2 separate regions of the Homo sapiens genome follow, and region 2 is linked to region 1. The links are contacts of gene promoters, found by promoter capture Hi-C in human tissues and cell types (Jung and others, 2019). All regions are on one chromosome and are shown on one strand. The core of a region is centred on a gene start or on the middle of the fragment in contact, and the rest is flanking DNA. Distances in the headings are between cores, read along the strand shown.

Region 1 (5,842 bases), core at 297-2,796:
TGCTAACTGCAGTCATGACAGCAGCCAACAGGTCTCATGCCTGCGTCCTCCAAGCCACACACGGAGCCGCAGGTGCCACTGCGGTGTTTCAGGTGGGGAAACTGAGGCTCAGACGTTAAGTGACTTGGCCCTGGCGACACAGCTGGGGGCCAGCGGGGCCTGGTTTCAAAGCCACGCTTCACACTGGAACCCCAGCTGCTCCTGGAGCAGGGATGTTCTGACGGGGACAGGGGGTAGGACGTCTCCTCTCCCAGAGCACCCGAGTTCCAGCCCTGCTGCTATTAATACCATGGGTAAACTCAGACGCTTCTCCTTCCTCCTCCCCTTGCCTTTTTTTGTCCAAAGACTGGAAAAGAGCACGTCCGCATCCCCCCCCCAGGGAGGTTCTGCCGCTCTAAGCAACAAGGGCCGCCAGACTGGCCCAGTAACCAGGTATCCAAGGTCAGGCTGCCCTAAACCGCACAGCTCCGGGCACTCATGCTCCCCCATCTGACCACGCAGATGCCTGGCCTTTGGGCAAGAAACCATGCTCTGATTCTCGCTATTCTGAATGCGCTTTGCAAAACCTCCCAGCAGCTGCATCGAGCTATTCATTAGCTGACAGCGGAGACCTTCAGGCAGAACCAGACGGACGGATGGTTTTGGGGGTTTCTCACCTCTCAGTTTCCATTCGCTAGGAGGGAAAACCGGGGGCTTAGACCGCAGGGGTAGTGGCCTCCGGGCCAGACTCTTGGCTTCCTGTTCTCTCTCCTCACCTGCGAACCCCAAACTCCTCTGCCAAGTGTTTCCCTCCCGTGATGGGGGCAGAAAGGACCCAGGTCCCTGCCCTCCCCTGTCCTTTGTAAAGTTTGCCATTTCTCTGTCACCCCTCCCTTGCTTTTCTGGTTTTGAGACCTGTCTTACATCCCTGCAGGGATCATATCCACAGCCTTCTCCCTCAGTCTCCTGGGGGAGGAAGCCTTCTCCCTCCCCGGCTCATACACAGGCTGCGGGGAGCCCTGGGCACGACGAGATTCTCGGCGCCCTGGAGGTTCCCCGGGGACGTCCCGCACCCACCTGGCTCGCCCCAGCCCGGAAACGCCTTCTTTCGGGCGCTTGGCCCTGGATTCCCGACCCGTCCCCAGTTTGCTCCCATCGGGAAGCGCGCAGGTCGCCCTGGCCTGGGAGAGGATGGCGGGGAGGGGGCGCGTGGCCCTTCCCTGGCCCGGCCTTCCCTCTGCAGGACCTGCCGGGGCTGTGCGGACCCCGGCGCGGCGCTGCACCAAACCCTCGCCAAGTGCGCCCTTCGCGTCTCCGCGGTCCCCGCGCGCCCGTAGCCGCCGCCGCCCGGGCGCCCTCGGGACTTGGTGCGCGGGCCGGGCTGGACCCGGAGCTGCCCCTACCCACCCGCCCCGGCACGGAGGTCCCTCTCGGTCCCTGCGCCCCCGAGTCTTCCCCGCGCGCCCCCCTACCTCGCAGTCCCGCGCCCGCCGGAGCCGGCAGAGGCCGCGCCGGGCACCGAGCCCCGGGCAGCAGCGTGGGCAGCTCGGCCTGGGCCGGGAGGATCGGGAGGTCCCGGTGACGTCGGCGCGCGGGGCAGGGACCGAGGCGGGCGGGACTGGGGCCGGTGTGGGGCCGCGGGCAGGACAGGAGGGCCACACCCCTCCCGGCGCTCAGCGTCCTGCCCCACTCCCTCCAGCTGCCCGCGGTGGAGCTCACGTGGGACCCTCCAGCCTCCCAGAAACACCCGGGCAGGGGGGCCCCAGAGCCTAAAGCCAAACAGGTGAGGGAGGTCAGTCAGCCCGGGCCAGTTCGTGCCTCCCCAGGTGAGAGGAGTAAACCCGGCTACTCTGCAAGGCGCCAGGTGAAGAGGTGAACCAGGCCACCAGTTAAGGCCCCAGGTGAGAGGGGTGAACCAGCGCCACGAGGTGAGGAAGGGGAACCAGGCCACCAGGAGAGGCCCCAGGTGAGAGGGGTGAACCAGGCTATCAGGCAAGGCGCCAGGTGAGGGGGTGAACGAGGCCACCAGGTGAGGAGGTGAACCAGGCTTATCAGCGAAGCCCCAGGTGAGAGGGGTGAACCAGGCCCCTAGGTTAGCCCTACAGTCAGTGGCCCTGAGGACGGGCGCCCTGCCCTACCCTGGCCAGCTGTGAGTGCAGCCCTGGCCCTGTGCCAGCCACCAGGAGATGGAAAGGACTCTAAGTGCGGAAGGATGCCGTGAAGGCCGGCATGACGGCTCCAGACAGAGCCCAGAGGCCTTTTCCATAAACTGCCCTTTTCCTCTCTGCAAACCCTCCCAGCACCAGCTTCCCTCGGGCAGCCTCCCACCAGCTCTGCTTCACCGTGCAGAAATGCCCCCCACGCCCTCAGCAGCGCCCCACAGATGGCTGAGGGATTCGTCACCATCGTCCCACACCAGTGCAAAGAATTTTTTTTTTTTTTTAGATGGAGTCTCGCTCTGTCGCCCAGGCTGGAGTGTAATGGTGCAATCTGGGCTCACTGCAACCTCCACCTCCGGGGTTCAAGTCATTCTTCTGCCTCAGCCGCCTGAGTAGTGGGGATTATAGGTACCCATCATTGTGTCCAGCTAATTTTTGTATTTTTAATAGAGATGGGGTTTCACCTTCTTGGCCAGGCTGGTATCAAACTCTTGACCTCATGATACACCCGCCTCAGCCTCTCAAAGTGCTGGGAGTACAGGCGTGAGCCACCACACCCAGCCTCAAAGAATTTTTTTAAGCCTTAAGAAATAACACGGCTGGGCGTGGTGGCTCATGCCTGTAATCCCAGCACTTTGGGAGGCTGAGGCAGACAGATCACAAGGTCAGGAGTTCAAGACCGGCCTGGCCAGTATGGTCAAACCCCGTCTCTATTAAAAATAAAAAAATTAGCTGGGCGTGGTGGCTGGTGCCTATAGTCCCAGCTACTCGGGAGGCTGAAGCAGGAGAATCACTTGAACCCGGGAGGCGGAGGTTGCAGTGAGCCGAGATTATGCCACTGCACTCCAGCCTGGGTGACAAAGCAAGACTTTGTTTCAAAAAAAAAAGAGAGAGAGAGAAAAACAACACAACACTAGGTGTCCGGTGTGCAAAATTTGGAAAATTATGAAAAATAAAAACAAAAAGAAGACCCCATAAGCCAACTGTGTAGAGGTAACCTCTCTCACCTTCTTGTCAGACATCCTTCTGATCGCCTTCTCCTCCACATTGAAATGTATTTTTAAAAAGTTTTTTTTGAGACAGGATCTTGCTCTATTGCCCAAGCTAGAATGCACTGGTATAAACGCGAGTCACTGTAGCCTCGACCTCCTAGACTCCAGCAATCCTCCTCCCTCAGCCTCCTGAGTAGCTGAGACTACAGGTACGTGCCATCACACCTGGCTAATTTTGAAACTTTTATGTAGAGATGGGATCTCGCTATGTTGCTCAAGCTGGTCTCAAACTCCTGGGCTCAAACAACCCTCCCAGCTCGGCCTCCCAAAATGTTGAGATCACAGGTATGAGCCACCGTGCCCAGCCTAAATACATATTTTAAGGGATTCACGTCACATACTGCGTTCTGCAGGCGGCCCGTGACTTCACACTCATCAATAGCCAAAAGTCCGTCTCCACACCCTGATGGTCTGCGCTGGACTCCGTGTCATGGATCTGTCACCTGCTTTGGGATATTTTGGTTTCTCCTGGTGTCTCACTAGCATATATCACTGTGATAGACGATCTTGTTTCCACAGATCTTTGTACAGGTATCTGGTCCCCCTCACCTTGGGATAAATTCCTACAAATAGATTGTGACTCAGAAAGCTGCACTTCTTCACACGTGTTGCCGCAGGGATTTTCCAGGTTATTTCTGTTGGGGATGGAGAACCCAGAACCTGAGAAAAGATGAATGTTCTTTTTTTTTTTTTTTTTTTTTTCTTGAGACGGAGTCTCGCTCTGTCACTCAGGCTGGAGTGCAGTGGCGTGATCTCGGCTCACTGCAAGCTCCACCTCCCGGGTTCACACCATTCTCCTGCCTCAGCCTCCTAAGTAGCTGGGACTACAGGCGCCTGCCATCATGCCTAGCTAATTTTTGTGTTTTTAGTAGAGATGGGGTTTCACCATGTTGGCCAGGATGGTCTCGATCTCCTGACCTCGTGATCCGCCTGCCACGGCCTCCCAAAGTGCTGGGATTACAGGCATGAGCCACCGCACCCGGCCTTTTTTTTTTTTTGAGACGGAGTCTCACTCTGTTGCCCAGAGCTGGAGTACAAGTGGCGCGATCTCGGCTCACTGCAAACTCCACTTCCTGGGTTCAAGCGATTCTCCTGCCTCAGCCACCCAAGTAGCTGCGATTACAGGTGCCCGTCACCTCGCCCGGCTAATTTTTGTATTTTTAGGAAGGACAGGGCTTCACCCTGTTGGCCAGGCTGGTCTCGAACTCCTGACTTCAAGTGATCCACCCGCCTTGGCCTCCCAAATTGCTGGGATTACAGGCGTGAGCCACCGAGCCTGGCCTGAATGTTCTGTCCTAAAGCTGCTTATTACAAAGAAGTTGTGGAATATCCTCCCCCCAACCCCCACGCCCCTCCCTGAATAGCCACCGGAAAGGAAATTATGCATCGAGGCCGGGCGCGGCGGCTCAACCTGTAATCCCAGCACTTTGGGAGGCCGAGGCGGGCGGATCACGAGGTCAGAAGATCAAGACCATCCTGGCTAACACAGTGAAACTCCATCTTTACTAAAGATACAAAAAATTAGCCGGGCGTGGTGGCGGGCGCCTGTAGTCCCAGCTACTCAGGAGGCTGAGGCAGGAGAATGGCGTGAACCTGGGAGGCGGAGCTTGCAGTGAGCTGAGATCGCGCCACTGCACTCCAGCCTGGGCGACAGAGACTCCGTCTCAAAAAAAAAAAAAAAAAAAGCAATTATGTGTCAAGCCCAGAGTGGCAGTTCCTCCTCTGTCTGTTGGGTCAGCCCGGGAGACTGGAAGCCCAGATGAGTAGGGCCCCTCCTGGGTGCCCCAAGTTGGGTGGCGCCATGCCCAGTGCCAGGACCCCCGAAACACAGAGGCAGCCTGCTGATGACCTGGCCCCTGCCAGCCAAGGCTTCACTCAGCCAACGCCCTGTCCACACTGCACCCGGGACACGCTGGTCTCCCACCGGCAGACTGCACACCCCTTTCTGGTTGAAGCTACCTCGTCAGAGTCTATTCTAGAAAGAGGCCGTGATATGGGGACCCCTGTCCTTTCAGTGATGAACAAAGGGGGCCGCCCCCAACTTTGACCCCATCACCATCCTCTGACCCAGGCCGACTTGGGGTTAAAAGAGAACTGTGTGGCCTGGGGAAGCTGCTTCACCTTGCCCTGCCTCAGTTTCCCCAGGGTGGGTTACATAGCGGCTCCCAAAAATGTGCCTACTTGCACCATCAGAATGGGACCTTATTTGGAAACCGAGTCGTTGCAGATATGGTTAAAGTAAGGATCTCAAGATGAGGTCATCCTGGGTCAGAGTCAGGGTGGGCCCTAAATCCAATGCAAGTGACTTTGTAAGAGACAGAAAGAGGTTCCTCATTGGAGGAACAAGACAATGTAAAAAATAATGACAATTTTTTTTTTTGAGATGGAGTCTCGCTCTGTCACCCGGGCTGGAGTGCAGTGGCGTGATCTTGGCTCACTGCAACCTCTGCCTCCCAGGTTCAAGCGATTCTCCTGCTTCAGCCTCCTGAGTAGCTGGGATTATAGGCGCGTGCCACCAAGCCCAGCTAATTTTTGTATTTTTAGTAGAGATGGGGTTTCACTGTGTTGGCCAGGCTGGTCTTAAACTCCTGACCTCAAGTGATCCACCCGCCTCGGCCTCCCAAAGTGCTGGGATTATAGGCATGAGCCACT
Region 2 (5,625 bases), core at 3,033-5,532, 1.3 Mb before region 1:
GCTGGCTTGGCTGAGCAAGTGCATGGCTCTGGGGACCTCCAGGCCCAGACGATGCTGCTCCTCTCCAAGTGGTGACCTCTCTCCACCCTAGCCAGGGACCATCTGTGTTTGGCACACAGCATGCCACCTGGTGAGAAAACTCATCCCACTCCACACTCTCCATAGTACTGTGGCATGGGCAAGGTCTGGGGGGCAGCCTGCCACCGCCTGCAGGGGCCAATGTCCTGGGCAGTTTTAGTAGCTCAGTGCTAGGCATGGGTGGAAAACATCTGGCTGTTCATTGTGGATGCTCTTAGCTTGTTCTGGAAAGCCTTCCAGGTCGCTGTGCCTGGGGAGCAGGTGCAGAGCTGCCCATGCCCTGCGTGGCCTCTGAGCTTCCCTTAGTACTTCCCCACCGTGTGAGGGTACGAGTTCTCTCCCTGCCAACCCTTCCTAGTATTCTAACCCAGCGGCTGCTCAGATGGAGTTTCTCCCCATTTCCAGCTACGGTTTTACACACAGTCTGCTCTAAGGCAAAGAACCGGAGGAAATGCCAAGCCTATGGACCGTGAAAAGCCCGTGAGTTAAACACTGGGGAAAACCCATTGTAAATGAGTCATCCTGTGCATAGACTCTCAACCACTTACTCTTCAGAGGGCAAGAGGGCGAGGGCATGTCTTAGCCTGTCAGTGGCAACTGTGTCTAGAAAGGGTACTCTGCCAACATGGGTCCACCCTGGACTTCTGAAAATTGATCCTGACTGCAGCCAACAAAACAGGGGATGGAAACAAACACTTCTCCCTCTTTTGAAACAATATGAAGACATCAGGGAAAGGTTCTCATGCCCTGTGTGAAGTCAGGGTGTTAGGAAAAGGCCAGCTCAGATTTTCCGCCTTCCACATGGCCCAGAGCCCATGGCAGCTGCCTCCAGGGGCAGCGCAAGCTTCTAGCTCCCCAGTCTCAGGAGAGGAGGTGGGGAGACCTCCCAGACTGCCCCCAAACCAAGGGCCTCTGTCAAATGACCTCACTCTCCAAAATGCCAGTGTGACAAAGTGCAGGCTCAGGCCCAATGGAGGCAACCGCAGTGGAGAAGGACCCCCCAACAACACCATGCATTTTTCCTGCTCTCCCATCCCCAATGCTGCTGGGATTTGGCTTCTGAGTTGCAAAGCTTCTTCTGTGTAGGGATCACTGCAAGATCCAAAGATGTTTCCTGCGCTGCCTCCCTGTTCCTTCCAGGTCGCCCCTCTCAGGGAGCAGCATGTCCCACGCATGCCCTCGGCTGGCCTGCACTGCACGCTAGTCCACCGAGGTGGACAGAACGGCTCCCGGAGGTGTCCACACCCACACCTCTGGAATCTATGAATATGCTGTCTCACTTGGCAAGAGGGACTCTGCAGGTGGGATTAGGTATCCCACCTTAAAATAGGGAGACTCTCTTGGATTCGCTGGGTGGGCCCAATTTAATCATGTGAGCCCCTAAAAGGAGAGGACTTTCTGCAGCTGGAGGCACAGGGGACAGCAGAGAGCTTCCATGTGTGACAAGAACTCAGCCGCAGCTGCTGGCTCTGGAGATGAGCCAGGGATGCAGGGGACTCTGGAACCTGAGGGGACCCCTGGCCAGGAGCCAGCCCCCAAGCCACAAGCACTGAATTCCATGAACAACTTGAAGGGGCTGGCAGCAGATGCCCCACCAGGTAAAGAGTCCATCCCAGTGAAAACTCGCCGTCCGAGTTTCCGAGCCATCGTGCTCAGCAGGAGCAGGGCACATGTGGGAGCAGCTGGCTTCGTGTGTGATGAGGAGACCGTGGAGAAGGCGTGGCTCGGAGGGAAGATGCATCTCACAGGCACTAAGGTGCTGCAGTCAGAGGTAAGGGGCATCCTTGTCTTACCCCAAGGAAAAAAAAAATGGTTTCATAGGTGGTGAGGCACATCCTGATTCCAGAGACACTAAACATGAAAAATGTGTGTCACATAACTGATTATTGGTAAATAGCGAGTGCAATGGGACATATAGGATAATAGAGTTATGCCAACAGCAACTAAAGCCACTATTTCAGAGCCTCTGTGACAGACATTTTTGCATTTAACCTTCACAATATGAGCTGGTACCATCTACATCCATCTCCATTTTATGGATGTGGAAACTGAGGCCAACACTCATTCAAGCCCATGAATGGTGCAGTGTAGAGGGTGTAGAAGGGAGGTGGGACGGAAGCGGAGGGTGTAGAGGGGAGGCCAGAGGGGAAGGTGTAGAGGGGAGGTGGGAACGGAGGGCGGAGAGTATAGAGGGGAGGCGGGAAGGGAGGGTGTTGAGGGGAGGTTGTAAAGGGGAGGTGGGAGGGGAGAGGAGGGTGTAGAGGAGAAGCAGGAGGGGAGGGGGGAGGGTGGAGGGCGTAGAGGGGAGGCAGGAGGGGAGGGGAGGGTGTAGAGGGGAGGCAGGAGGGGAGGGTGGAGGGTGTAGAGGGGAGGCAGGAGGGGAGGGTGTAGAGGGGAGGCAGGAGGGGAGGGGAGGGTGTAGAGGGGAGGCAGGAGGGGAGGGGAGGGTGTAGAGGGGAGGCAGGAGGGGAGGCTGTAGAGTGTAGAGGTGATGCGGGAGAGGAGGGTGTAGAGGGGAGGCAGGAGGGGAGGGTGGAGGGCGTAGAGGGGCTGCTCCACAGGACTGGGCAGCCAGTGGCGGGGTGGTGCCTGGAAGCCGACCTCTGTGCTCTCATTCAAGCCACAGAAATTAAGCAACATAGACAGGCAGGTGGGCAAACAGCCCAACTAGCCTGTCCTGTGTCATCAGTATAAAATACAAGTAATAGGAGCCCATTTGTTTCTCTGTCTTTGGCCTGTGTGCTCCTACGGGTGGCCCTTTTGACAGGTACATGGTGACAGCCCTGTGAAACCAATAATGCTCGGCCACAGGGCGTGGGATTATAATCTCATCCAAATCCCTCGGAATTGACACAGACACTCTCTTCAGGGTTTTTGCAGTGTGCGCCAACCACAAAAATCCTACCTGCTACAGCAAATTCTTATGAATAAAAGGGGATTTAACTCAACATCATAAAGAAGTGAAGTGTGTTTGTGTACCTTTAAAAGTCAGAACACGGAGAGGTGCTAACTCGAGAGAACACAAAACTAATCAGATATAAATGTAAAACTAAAGCTCTTAAGATAGATTTAAATATTTTAAAAAGGAATGATGATCGAAACAAACATTCTCGTTTAAAGGGAGATAAATTTCTTCTCTTGTTTAAATTACCTTAAAATGTTTGAACACGGTATAGTCCTGTCTACTAGAGATTTACACGTCGCAAATTTTAATTTTGGCTGAATCTATAATGTGCTGTGCTCCTAGAACTACAGATCAACCTCGATGAAAAAATCTTTGCAGAGAATGGGATGTGATATTTACATCTGTAGCGGAAGCATGGATGGGGAAGGTAGCAATACCAGCTCAGGCCTCTCATGTAGAATCAACAGTGATTGGTGACTCAAAGCCGGCTTCCTTGGATGCTTTTAACAGACTTTCGCTTCTTTCAGAGGGACCGACAGGTTTGCACTGCATTGTATTTAGAAGAGTCAAGGTCAGGACATGGAGTCATTTCCTAATGATTAAAGGAATGGGACGTGATCAAGGTAAACCACCTTTTGTGCAGTATTCCTTTTCTTGCTAGTTTCATAGGAAAACACAAGCTTTTTTTTTTTTTTCCTTATTTTGCAAAGTGGCAGACTGCAAATTTTTTTATTTAAGGGGCTCTCTGAGGGTTTTCTTATTTGAATTTTCCTGTTCTCAATTCCCCTTTTTCCCAAAGAGGAGAGAGGAAGTCGAGATTCTCCTTCCTAGAGGCGGCCTCTAAGGCTACCTCTTATCAACAGCGGCTACCACTGCGGAACACAGGCTGCTCTCATAGTCATCACGGCCACTTATGAAGAATAAATGCATGACAGTAGCTGGAAAAATGAGAGAAATAAAGTCACTTGCCTCACAACTTAACCTCCTCATAAACTGATAATAGGTTTTGTATTTTCTTAGCCACTGTACAATGCACACTCCCTAAACACTAATAGTTTCCAGCATTTAGAGCTGGGCAACTCCAGTGTACTTAATTTTATGTTCTTTCTCCTTGGTTCAGGAATAATATGTCGCCCAGTTTGAGGAAGCATCTCTGTTCTCTTTTTTTTTTTAAGTTTAACAAAAGGTAACATCCGATAGTTTTACATTTTCTGCTAGGTCAAAAAATAACAGCTAAATTAATAATTAATAGAATAATTTCTAAATTAATAATTTTTTTTTTGAGTTGGAGTTTTGCTCCTGTGGCCCAGATTGGGTTGCAATGATGCGATCTTGGCTCACTGCAACCTCTGCCTCCTGGGTTCAAGTGATTCTCGTGCCTCCGCCTCCCGAGTGGCTGGGATCATAGGCGCCCGCCACTGCGCCCAGCTGATGTTTGTATTTTTAGTAGAGACGGGCGGGATTTCACCATGTTGGCCAGGCTGGTCTCGAACTCCTGGCCTCAAGTGATCCGCCCACCTTGGCCTCCCAAAGTGCTGGGATTACAGGCATAAGCCACCATGCCTGGACAGCAATAATAGAATAGTTTCTGAACACCGATCACGATAGCCAAATAAGAGTTACAGAAAAGCTTAGCAGCCTAAAGCTAGAATAGGAGAGGGATCTATATGACAGGGGTTTCACCGCTCTATTTCCCGAGCTTTGTGACTGGAGTATTCAGAAGGACGTTTCTTGGAAGGATTGAGAACATCAACACTTTGGATTTAATGGACTTATATTCTTGGGAAAGAAGGCTAGGAAGGATTTCGAAGGTAAACTCAACCTCACCTTCATTTGCCGAGTTACAAATAAAGCCACTGAAATACGCTATTTTGTTTCTGCAGAAGAGTCAGTGTCGGATGCTATCTGAGATGCTGGCAACACCACTTAGAGGCTCCCGCATTACCTATGATGAAAAGAAAGGCCGTCGCCCTGGCCGGTTCAAAAGCGCTCCCCGGCAGCGCCGCCTCGCAGACGTATGGCCCGGTGTCCGCGGACGTCGGGTTGCTGATGGTGAGGCGTCTTCCAAAGCTGTGGAGGCCACTGGTGATTCTCACTCCATTCCTCTTCCAGGTCACACTCAGGTCCTCCACAGGCCTGTGGGAATGAAAGGCATTCATGACGACGATTGTGACTCAGGGAGGTGGCAACGGTCATCATCTCAGGCACTCGGCACAGGCTTGACGAAGCTAATGCTACCAGGGTGCATGGTGGGTTGAACAACGGACACTGAAAACTCAATCTAGATGTAACTCTACTCCCTCCCAGCACGCATTGACGATGCATTCTGCTCAAGGGCTATTAAGCAAGGATATCTAATTGCCGCAGCAATGGACCATAAGTGCTAATGATCCCATTTGCTCAGGAAATGAATGTTTAAAATAAATACTGTGAGGGGACACAACGACATGGAAGGCGGGATCATCCGAGCTTGATTCTGGAGCGACCGCTAAGTAGGCAGAGAACACCTTGGCTGACTAAGAGGAGAAGAGCAATGAACTTTTTCCTCTGCCTCAACTCCTCTCTCTTCCCTAGAGAGGATCTCAGAGGAGCCCCCCACTACCACCCAGAGCTGCATTGAAAGCACCGCCCTGTTGCAGTGG

What was found. The method cuts DNA at HindIII sites, captures the fragments that hold promoters and counts their contacts. A contact is called where the count stands out against the background at its distance.
Region 2: a contact is called between a fragment that was not itself captured here and the fragment with the promoter of AMZ1 in region 1, in 1 of the 25 tissues and cell types used here (dorsolateral prefrontal cortex).

What each region holds. Positions count from the first base shown.
Region 1 is chr7:2,683,906-2,689,747 of GRCh38, reverse strand. It overlaps AMZ1 (archaelysin family metallopeptidase 1), which reads right to left and starts at 1,546. Exons shown (of 7, transcript NM_001384743.1): 1 at 1,452-1,546. RefSeq lists an enhancer at 578-847. The HindIII fragment of the contact is 48,320 bases long and covers 1-5,842 here.
Region 2 is chr7:3,951,224-3,956,848 of GRCh38, reverse strand. SDK1 (sidekick cell adhesion molecule 1) reads right to left here. Exons shown (of 45, transcript NM_152744.4): 7 at 4,929-5,119. It overlaps LOC124901576 (a long non-coding RNA gene), which reads right to left and starts at 4,914. Exons shown (of 2, transcript XR_007060195.1): 1 at 4,811-4,914. The HindIII fragment of the contact is 3,750 bases long and covers 2,408-5,625 here.